Regions from separate parts of the Homo sapiens genome. Here region 1 is linked to region 2. The links are contacts of gene promoters, found by promoter capture Hi-C in human tissues and cell types (Jung and others, 2019). All regions are on one chromosome and are shown on one strand. The core of a region is centred on a gene start or on the middle of the fragment in contact, and the rest is flanking DNA. Distances in the headings are between cores, read along the strand shown. Region 1 overlaps LINC00910 (long intergenic non-protein coding RNA 910). Region 2 holds the start of SOST (sclerostin).

Region 1 (5,421 bases), core at 1,408-3,907, 370 kb after region 2:
GGCTAAGATCAAGTGTAGTATCTGTTCTTATCAGTTTAATATCTGATACGTCCTCTATCAGAGAACAATTATATTAGATAGATTTTTGGAGCAGGGAGATGAAATAGGAGCTTGCTCTGTCCACTCCACGCGTCGACCTGGTATTGCAGTACCTCCAGGAATGGGGCTCCCTCTCCTGGGATACAACCTGTTTGCAAGGTTAGAAAGAAAAGACTGCGCCGGGTAGTTTAGGATAGTTGGTAGGTTTTCTTACTCCTTTAAGTATCATAAGGTTCATGATTTATGGAGAGTATCCTAGGACCCAAAACAAGAATATTCATTTCCAAGTAGGGAACATGTTCGACTTTACTTGGAGGGCTTTAAATCTCAGCTTGGCTGTGGAGGGGTGATGACCTTTCAAAGGGATGGATTCCAGTGGTGTGTTGCCCAGGCTGGACTTCAACTTACTCTGTTTGTTTGTTTGTTTTTTGTTTTTGAGATGGAGTTTAGCTCTTGGTACCCAGGCTGGAGTGCAACGGCACCATCTCGGCTCACTGCAACCTCTGCCTCCCGAGTTCAGGCAATGCTCCTGCCTCAGCCTCCCGAGTATCTGGGATTACAGGCACCCGCCACCATGCCCAGCTAATTTTTGTATTTTTAGTAGAAACGGGGTTTCACCATGTTGACCAGGCTGGTCTCGAACTCCTGACCTCAGGTGATCCACCTGCCTGGGCCTCCCAGATTGCTGGGATTACAGGTGTGAGCCACTACGCCCAGCTGAACTTCCTCTTCAGCCCATGGAGTAGTTCTACTTTAAGGCAGGCACCAATGTACTGGCTACAAACTTCCTTTTTTCCCCAGGAAAAATCGAGGCACAGGTAGTTTAAGTTACCGAGGAATGCACAGGAGCAGAACTCGAGTCCAAGCATCGTGGCTCCACCCTTCATGCTTGATGCTTTTTTAGGCTCTGTTCTAGGTATGTGTATCCTTTACGGGATCAGCCACCGGCAGTTGCCTTGCAACCATGATGACAAATCTCTCCCAGCTTTTTTGGGTCTCATCCCTGTATCTATAAATTGCATCCCAGCATAAAGATCAGAATGTGTCTTTTGCTGACCCAATCTCTCACCCTTTCCAAACTCCAGAAATCTTGTCTGGCCTTGGCAAAACTACCCGCTGCTTCTTTCTCTAAAGGATATCTTCAGTCCGGGCACTGTGGCTCATGCCTGTAATCCCAGCACTTTGGGAGGCCCAGGTGGGAGGATGGCTTGAGCCCAGGAGGCCACAGTGAGGTGAGATCACGCCATTACACTCCAGCCTAGGCGGCAAAGCCAGAGCCCCATCTCGAAACAAACGAACGAACAAACAAAGCACAAAAGAAACAGCCTAGGCAAGGTAGTGAAGCCCTGTTCAGGGTGACGAATATCTGTACAACAGCTATTTCAGAGGCTGAGGCAGGAGGATCAGTTGAGTCTGGGAGGTGGATGCTCCAGTGAGCCGTGATTGCACCACTGCACTCCAGCCTTGGTGACAGAGCCAGACCCTGTCTCAAATAAATAAAAATTAAAATTAAAGGAAAGAAAGCGTGGAAGCAGAAGTGGGTCCCATTGAACTTCAAGCCTTCAAGCTACAGCTGTGGCTGGACAGGTTGAACTAGCAGGCAGGAGCAGTCACCATCTTGGCAGGGATTAATGGCCCTGAACCATCATCAGGAAGAGGGAGTAGTGCTCTTATGCAGGGAGGGCAGGTGGAATATATGTGAACTCTGGTGATCTGTTTGGGTGCCACGTGTTACTCCCAGGTCCACCTGTGACATGAATGGACAAGTGCAGGAACCCTGACTTGAGAAAGATGTGGCCTTGAGGGGTTTAGACTTTTCAGGAATGAGAGTTTGGGTCACGGTAGCCAGGGAAACCACCAGGATTAACAGAGTTGATAGCTGAGAAGGAGGGGGGATTTGGAGGGGAGAGGACAGGAGGCACTGGTTGAGTACCAGGGGCAGCCTTGTGACCAAATGCACCAAGAGGGGCTGTCGTTTGACTCACTAACTTTCTGTAGCTCTATGCAGTACAAAAGAGCAGGAGATGAAAGAATGGCAAGTAGATTGGGAGCCGGAAAATAACTGGAATGAACCCACACATTCCTGATTGACATTGACAGTAATATACAGGTACAGGCAGGCAGAGGCGTTTTCTCTTCAACTGATTTTGAAATCATTCTCTCTGTTAGAGTACACAGCTATCTGAAGGTACACAGTGACCATCAACATTTACCAAGCTTTGGGCAAATGTTAAGTGTCATTGTTGTTGGTTTAATTTGATATTGTTCTCTATTGAATAATGTGCACAACAAATTTCTGGATTTTTATTAAAAGAGCATCTCCTGTGCTACATGCAAATATACAATCTGAGAAATTCTGACCCTGGCTATTAAAGTATAAAAAGGTTTCCTTGTCTCAGAACAATGTTAGAACAGACATCAACTCACTGCTTCTAGAAGAGCAGCCACTCCTTGATTTCACAAACTCAATAAACAGTCTCAGTTGTTGTTTAGTATCATTAGGAACTATTTTGACAGAGGTTTCTAGATCATGTCACAATGACATCAGATATCAAAGAAATGTGTAACAGGTTTGGTTATATGCAATGGCTACCCTCAACCCCCCAAGTTCCTGTCCAGTCAAATTCCCTCTGACCTGCTGTCTGCATCTGCCTCTCCAGAAACAGGGCAGACACAGGATTGTCAAACGTGCTTGCTTCCATGCTCTCTCCCTAATGGTGACATGGACTCTGTTCTCAATAAGCACCTCCCACCCCGCCCAAAGGTCCCTATCACCTCTCCCTGGCTCTGGGTCCACTTCTCTGTACCTTGGACATGGGCATAACATGTTGCCCATGAGGCACAGGATGAGTAGCAGGGGCAGCCCTGTGACCAGCTGCAGCAAGAGGGAGTGCTGTTTGGCTCACGACCCTTATGCAGCTCTATGCAGTACAAAAGAGCAGGGGAGAGAAGAATGGCAAGTGGAAGGGGAGGCAGAAAATAACCAGAACAAATGCACATATATGATCGTGGCCTTGGGTTTTCATTTCCTTGTGAGGGCTCCCGTGTCATGTAAAACTTACATTGACAGCTTTTATGATAGCTTTCCTCCTGCTAATCTATGTCAGTTTGAGTCTCAGGCCCAGCAAGGACCCTAAGGAGATAAAGTTTTGCCTCCCCTACACAGTCATTGCCCACTCCCACCCTCATCTTGAGTTAACCACTGATCTACTTTATGTCTAGAGTTCCCGTTCCTGGCATTTCATATGAAAGGAATTACACAGTATGTGGTCTTTTGTGTCTGACTGATGTCTTTCTCTGAGCATAATGTTTCTGAGGTTCATCCCCATTGTGACATGTGCCATTATGTTGTACCATTATGTTTTTATTCCTGAATATCACATTTTGTTTATCCGTTCACCCACTGATGGACGTTTGAGTAGTTTTCAGTTCAAAGCTATTCGAATAATTCTGCTCTAAACATTTGCCTCTAAGTCTTTATAAGGACATACGTTGTCATTTCTCTCGGCCTGCCTGCTCATTACACATTGGTGTTCCTGTGATTCTGAAACATGTACTCTTCTCTTACACAAAGTAGTATCTCCGTGTCATCTCTCCCAGTCCATGGCTACTGGGGACCACCTGTATACCTCACCCTGATCATAGAAACAGAAGTCCAGTCTCTCTATGTTTTCAAAGGCCTCCAAGATTTTCAACTCTTTCTCTCTTTCTCTTTCTTTTTCTCTTTTTCTTTTTCTTTCTTTTTTTCTTTCTTTCTCTCTCTCCCTCTCTCTCTCTCTCCCTCTCTCTCTCTCTCTCTCTCTCCCTCTCTCTCTCTTTCTTTTTTTTTTCAAGTCTCGCTCTGTGGCCCGTGGTGGAGGGCAGTGGCATGACCATGGCTCACAACCTCGACCTCCCCAGCTCAAGTGACCCTCCACCTCAGCCTCCTGAGTAGCTGGGACTACAGGAGCATGCCACCATGCCTAGTTTCATATGTGCTTGCTTCCATCCTCTGCCCCTAATGGTGCCACGTACTCTGTTCTCAGTAAGCACCCCTGGCCCATGGGTCTTTAGACTTAGCCTTGCTCACACGGATTTGCCATCTCCCTTCAGGCCTTTCTGCCTCAACTTGCTGATTCTGTATTTTATAACCCCAGAAAGTGTTCTAAGACCCACTCAGCCACCAGCGTAGACATCTGGAGTTATAACTGTATCACTTGTTATCCAAATCCATGTGGTCCCCAAGTTTCAGATATTGGTAGTGAGAATTGAGGTCTCAAAAAACATATTTGCTTCTTCTCTCTCCCTCAGCCTCCCTCCTTCAGTCATCAAGTCCCAGAGCAGAATGCTTCCCAAACTCTGATGTGCATGTGCATTCTGGGGGAACCTTGTTAACATGCAGGTTCTGACGCAATAGGTCTGGAGCCAGTGATTCTGCACTTCTAACCCACCCCCAGATGATATCAATGGTGCTGGTTTGGGGACCACACTGTGAGCAGCAAGACTGTAGCAAGATGCTCCATTTCTACTAAATATCTTTTTTTTAAAGGGGCATATGGGCTTGGCGCAATGGCTCATGCCTGCAATCCCAGCACTTTGGGAGGCCGAGGGGGGAGGATCGCTTGAGGAGGAGTTTGAGACCACCCATGGCAACATAGGTAGACCTCATCTCTACCAAAAAAAAAAAAAAAATTAACAAAAATTAGCCAGGTGGCTGGGCGTGGTGGCTCACACTTGTAATCCCAGAATTTTGGAAGGCCAAGGCAGGTGGATCACTTGAGGTCAGGAGTTCAAGACTAGCCTGGCCAACATGGTGAAACCCTGTCTCTACTAAAAACACAAAAATTACCTGGACACGCACACCTGTAGTGCCAGCTACTTGGGAGGTTGAGGCAAGAGAATCGCTTGAACCCGAGAGGCAGAGGTTGCAGTGAGCTGAGATTGTGTCACTGCACTCCAGCCTGGGTGACAGAGCAAGACTTCGTCTCAAAAAAAATTAGCCAGTTGTGGTGATGCGCGCCTGTGGTCCCAGCTACTTGGGAGGATGAGGCAGGAGGATTGCTTGAGCCTGGGAGGTCAAGGCTGCAGTGAGCCGTGATCTCTTCACTGCATTCCAGCCAGGATGGCAAAGTGAGACTGTGTATCAAAAAAACAAAAAAACAGCCAGGTGCAGTGGCTCATGCCTGTAATCCCAGCACTTTGGGAGGCCGAGGCAGGCAGATCACATGAGGTCGGGAGTTCGAGACCAGCCTGACCAACATGGAGAAACCTCGTCTCTACTAAAAATACAAAATTAGCCAGGCGTGGTGGCACATGCCTGTAATCCCAGCTACTAGGGAGGCTGAGGCAGGAGAATCGCTTGAACTCAGGAGGCGAAGGTTGTGGTGAGCCGAGATCATGCCA
Region 2 (5,144 bases), core at 163-2,662:
CTGGCTTGTAAAACTGTCAGAGCAGCTGCATTCATGTGTCGGATGATGGATGATGGAAAGGAGGACAGTCGGCTGCAGATGGACACAGCGACTTGCAAGTTGAGGCAGGTGGCAAAGGACTTGCAGAGGCTCTGCAGGTGGGGCATGCTGATTCATTGCCCAGTTAAAATACCAGAGGATCTGGGCAGCCTCTTCACAGGAGCTGCTTGTCCTCAAACAATCTGTCTTCAATGAAAGATTCCTCTGGCCTTCCTTTCTCTTCTTGCACCTCAGGTGTGAATCCTTCTCCCCCACGCCTCTACCTGCCCCCCCGCCCCCCGCCCCGGCCCTGTGTGGCTCATTATATGCAGGGCCAAGGCAGCATTTTCTCTTAGCTTCTTTGTGACCACTTGGTCCTGGGATGGCTTCATGGAACACATCCTGTGGTGTGCACCAATGAAGCTTTCCATACAGGACTCAAAACTGTTTTTGAAAAATGTAACCAGCTGGAAGACAAGAAAATAAAATGTCAGCACTAAAAACGCTGGCTGTGGCTTTTGCTAAGGAAAGGAATTTGGTGTTGTCTTCTCACACACACAGACTGGTTGGGGAAATGACTGTCTTCAGCACATCACCCTGCGAGCCACAGTGAGTGCCCTGGCTCAGAAGTGCCTGTCACAGTGCACAGGATCCCTGAGGAGCATGAGCTGGGATTTCCTCTGTGCTGTCCACCACAGGAGCCTGAGTGACCAGCGCATCCTCGATTTGTAACCAGAATCCTGCCCTCTCTCCCAAGCGGGCACCCTTGCTCTGACCCTCTAGTTCTCTCTCTTGCCTTCCAGAGAATACCAAGAGAGGCTTTCTTGGTTAGGACAATGAATGCTGAGACTTGTGGAGTTGGGACCAATGGGATTTCTTTAAAAGCATCTTTTTGCCTCTGGCTGGGTCTATGGGGGTCAAACAGAAACGCCTTGGGCCATTTGTTGGTGGGGTGACAAATGAACTTGGCCTGAGAAATGGAATAGGCCGGGCTCAGCCCCGCGAAGCACTCAGAACTGCACATTTTCTTTGTTGAGCGGGTCCACAGTTTGTTTTGAGAATGCCCGAGGGCCCAGGGAGACAGACAATTAAAAGCCGGAGCTCATTTTGATATCTGAAAACCACAGCCGCCAGCACGTGGGAGGTGCCGGAGAGCAGGCTTGGGCCTTGCCTCACACGCCCCCTCTCTCTGGGTCACCTGGGAGTGCCAGCAGCAATTTGGAAGTTTGCTGAGCTAGAGGAGAAGTCTTTGGGGAGGGTTTGCTCTGAGCACACCCCTTTCCCTCCCTCCGGGGCTGAGGGAAACATGGGACCAGCCCTGCCCCAGCCTGTCCTCATTGGCTGGCATGAAGCAGAGAGGGGCTTTAAAAAGGCGACCGTGTCTCGGCTGGAGACCAGAGCCTGTGCTACTGGAAGGTGGCGTGCCCTCCTCTGGCTGGTACCATGCAGCTCCCACTGGCCCTGTGTCTCGTCTGCCTGCTGGTACACACAGCCTTCCGTGTAGTGGAGGGCCAGGGGTGGCAGGCGTTCAAGAATGATGCCACGGAAATCATCCCCGAGCTCGGAGAGTACCCCGAGCCTCCACCGGAGCTGGAGAACAACAAGACCATGAACCGGGCGGAGAACGGAGGGCGGCCTCCCCACCACCCCTTTGAGACCAAAGGTATGGGGTGGAGGAGAGAATTCTTAGTAAAAGATCCTGGGGAGGTTTTAGAAACTTCTCTTTGGGAGGCTTGGAAGACTGGGGTAGACCCAGTGAAGATTGCTGGCCTCTGCCAGCACTGGTCGAGGAACAGTCTTGCCTGGAGGTGGGGGAAGAATGGCTCGCTGGTGCAGCCTTCAAATTCAGGTGCAGAGGCATGAGGCAACAGACGCTGGTGAGAGCCCAGGGCAGGGAGGACGCTGGGGTGGTGAGGGTATGGCATCAGGGCATCAGAACAGGCTCAGGGGCTCAGAAAAGAAAAGGTTTCAAAGAATCTCCTCCTGGGAATATAGGAGCCACGTCCAGCTGCTGGTACCACTGGGAAGGGAACAAGGTAAGGGAGCCTCCCATCCACAGAACAGCACCTGTGGGGCACCGGACACTCTATGCTGGTGGTGGCTGTCCCCACCACACAGACCCACATCATGGAATCCCCAGGAGGTGAACCCCCAGCTCGAAGGGGAAGAAACAGGTTCCAGGCACTCAGTAACTTGGTAGTGAGAAGAGCTGAGGTGTGAACCTGGTTTGATCCAACTGCAAGATAGCCCTGGTGTGTGGGGGGGTGTGGGGGACAGATCTCCACAAAGCAGTGGGGAGGAAGGCCAGAGAGGCACCCCTGCAGTGTGCATTGCCCACGGCCTGCCCAGGGAGCTGGCACTTGAAGGAATGGGAGTTTTCGGCACAGTTTTAGCCCCTGACATGGGTGCAGCTGAGTCCAGGCCCTGGAGGGGAGAGCAGCATCCTCTGTGCAGGAGTAGGGACATCTGTCCTCAGCAGCCACCCCAGTCCCAACCTTGCCTCATTCCAGGGGAGGGAGAAGGAAGAGGAACCCTGGGTTCCTGGTCAGGCCTGCACAGAGAAGCCCAGGTGACAGTGTGCATCTGGCTCTATAATTGGCAGGAATCCTGAGGCCATGGGGGCGTCTGAAATGACACTTCAGACTAAGAGCTTCCCTGTCCTCTGGCCATTATCCAGGTGGCAGAGAAGTCCACTGCCCAGGCTCCTGGACCCCAGCCCTCCCCGCCTCACAACCTGTTGGGACTATGGGGTGCTAAAAAGGGCAACTGCATGGGAGGCCAGCCAGGACCCTCCGTCTTCAAAATGGAGGACAAGGGCGCCTCCCCCCACAGCTCCCCTTCTAGGCAAGGTCAGCTGGGCTCCAGCGACTGCCTGAAGGGCTGTAAGGAACCCAAACACAAAATGTCCACCTTGCTGGACTCCCACGAGAGGCCACAGCCCCTGAGGAAGCCACATGCTCAAAACAAAGTCATGATCTGCAGAGGAAGTGCCTGGCCTAGGGGCGCTATTCTCGAAAAGCCGCAAAATGCCCCCTTCCCTGGGCAAATGCCCCCCTGACCACACACACATTCCAGCCCTGCAGAGGTGAGGATGCAAACCAGCCCACAGACCAGAAAGCAGCCCCAGACGATGGCAGTGGCCACATCTCCCCTGCTGTGCTTGCTCTTCAGAGTGGGGGTGGGGGGTGGCCTTCTCTGTCCCCTCTCTGGTTTGGTCTTAAGACTATTTTTCATTCTTTCTTGTCACATTGGAACTATCCCCATGAAACCTTTGGGGGTGGACTGGTACTCACACGACGACCAGCTATTTAAAAAGCTCCCACCCATCTAAGTCCACCATAGGAGACATGGTCAAGGTGTGTGCAGGGGATCAGGCCAGGCCTCGGAGCCCAATCTCTGCCTGCCCAGGGAGTATCACCATGAGGCGCCCATTCAGATAACACAGAACAAGAAATGTGCCCAGCAGAGAGCCAGGTCAATGTTTGTGGCAGCTGAACCTGTAGGTTTTGGGTCAGAGCTCAGGGCCCCTATGGTAGGAAAGTAACGACAGTAAAAAGCAGCCCTCAGCTCCATCCCCCAGCCCAGCCTCCCATGGATGCTCGAACGCAGAGCCTCCACTCTTGCCGGAGCCAAAAGGTGCTGGGACCCCAGGGAAGTGGAGTCCGGAGATGCAGCCCAGCCTTTTGGGCAAGTTCTTTTCTCTGGCTGGGCCTCAGTATTCTCATTGATAATGAGGGGGTTGGACACACTGCCTTTGATTCCTTTCAAGTCTAATGAATTCCTGTCCTGATCACCTCCCCTTCAGTCCCTCGCCTCCACAGCAGCTGCCCTGATTTATTACCTTCAATTAACCTCTACTCCTTTCTCCATCCCCTGTCCACCCCTCCCAAGTGGCTGGAAAAGGAATTTGGGAGAAGCCAGAGCCAGGCAGAAGGTGTGCTGAGTACTTACCCTGCCCAGGCCAGGGACCCTGCGGCACAAGTGTGGCTTAAATCATAAGAAGACCCCAGAAGAGAAATGATAATAATAATACATAACAGCCGACGCTTTCAGCTATATGTGCCAAATGGTATTTTCTGCATTGCGTGTGTAATGGATTAACTCGCAATGCTTGGGGCGGCCCATTTTGCAGACAGGAAGAAGAGAGAGGTTAAGGAACTTGCCCAAGATGACACCTGCAGTGAGCGATGGAGCCCTGGTGTTTGAACCCCAGCAGTCATTTGGCTCCGAGGGGACAGGGTGCGCAGGAGAGCTTTCCACCAGCTCTAGAGCATCTGGGACCTTCCTGCAATAGATGTTCAGGGGCAAAAGCCTCTGGAGACAGGCTTGGCAAAAGCAGGGCTGGGGTGGAGAGAGACGGGCCGGTCCAGGGCAGGGGTGGCCAGGCGGGCGGCCACCCTCACGCGCGCCTCTCTCCACAGACGTGTCCGAGTACAGCTGCCGCGAGCTGCACTTCACCCGCTACGTGACCGATGGGCCGTGCCGCAGCGCCAAGCCGGTCACCGAGCTGGTGTGCTCCGGCCAGTGCGGCCCGGCGCGCCTGCTGCCCAACGCCATCGGCCGCGGCAAGTGGTGGCGACCTAGTGGGCCCGACTTCCGCTGCATCCCCGACCGCTACCGCGCGCAGCGCGTGCAGCTGCTGTGTCCCGGTGGTGAGGCGCCGCGCGCGCGCAAGGTGCGCCTGGTGGCCTCGTGCAAGTGCAAGCGCCTCACCCGCTTCCACAACCAGTCGGAGCTCAAGGACTTCGGGACCGAGGCCGCTCGGCCGCAGAAGGGCCGGAAGCCGCGGCCCCGCGCCCGGAGCGCCAAAGCCAACCAGGCCGAGCTGGAGAACGCCTACTAGAGCCCGCCCGCGCCCCTCCCCACCGGCGGGCGCCCCGGCCCTGAACCCGCGCCCCACATTTCTGTCCTCTGCGCGTGGTTTGATTGTTTATATTTCATTGTAAATGCCTGCAACCCAGGGCAGGGGGCTGAGACCTTCCAGGCCCTGAGGAATCCCGGGCGCCGGCAAGGCCCCCCTCAGCCCGCCAGCTGAGGGGTCCCACGGGGCAGGGGAGGGAATTGAGAGTCACAGACACTGAGCCACGCAGCCCCGCCTCTGGGGCCGCCTACCTTTGCTGGTCCCA

What was found. Contacts are between HindIII fragments. The study calls those that stand out against the background at their distance.
Region 1: a contact is called between a fragment that was not itself captured here and the fragment with the promoter of SOST in region 2, in 2 of the 25 tissues and cell types used here (H1 embryonic stem cells and dorsolateral prefrontal cortex).

The regions. Positions count from the first base shown.
Region 1 is chr17:43,381,979-43,387,399 of GRCh38, reverse strand. The region is part of intron 1 of LINC00910 (long intergenic non-protein coding RNA 910); the gene reads left to right. It also overlaps the pseudogene RNU2-4P. Among named protein-coding and RNA genes, the nearest start is that of LINC00910, 4.2 kb to the left of the region's middle. RefSeq lists an enhancer at 1-451. The HindIII fragment of the contact is 7,633 bases long and covers 1-5,421 here.
Region 2 is chr17:43,755,059-43,760,202 of GRCh38, reverse strand. SOST (sclerostin) reads left to right here and starts at 1,412. Exons shown (of 2, transcript NM_025237.3): 1 at 1,412-1,681; 2 at 4,440-5,144. The coding sequence starts at 1,462. The coding sequence ends at 4,861. The HindIII fragment of the contact is 9,966 bases long and covers 1-5,144 here.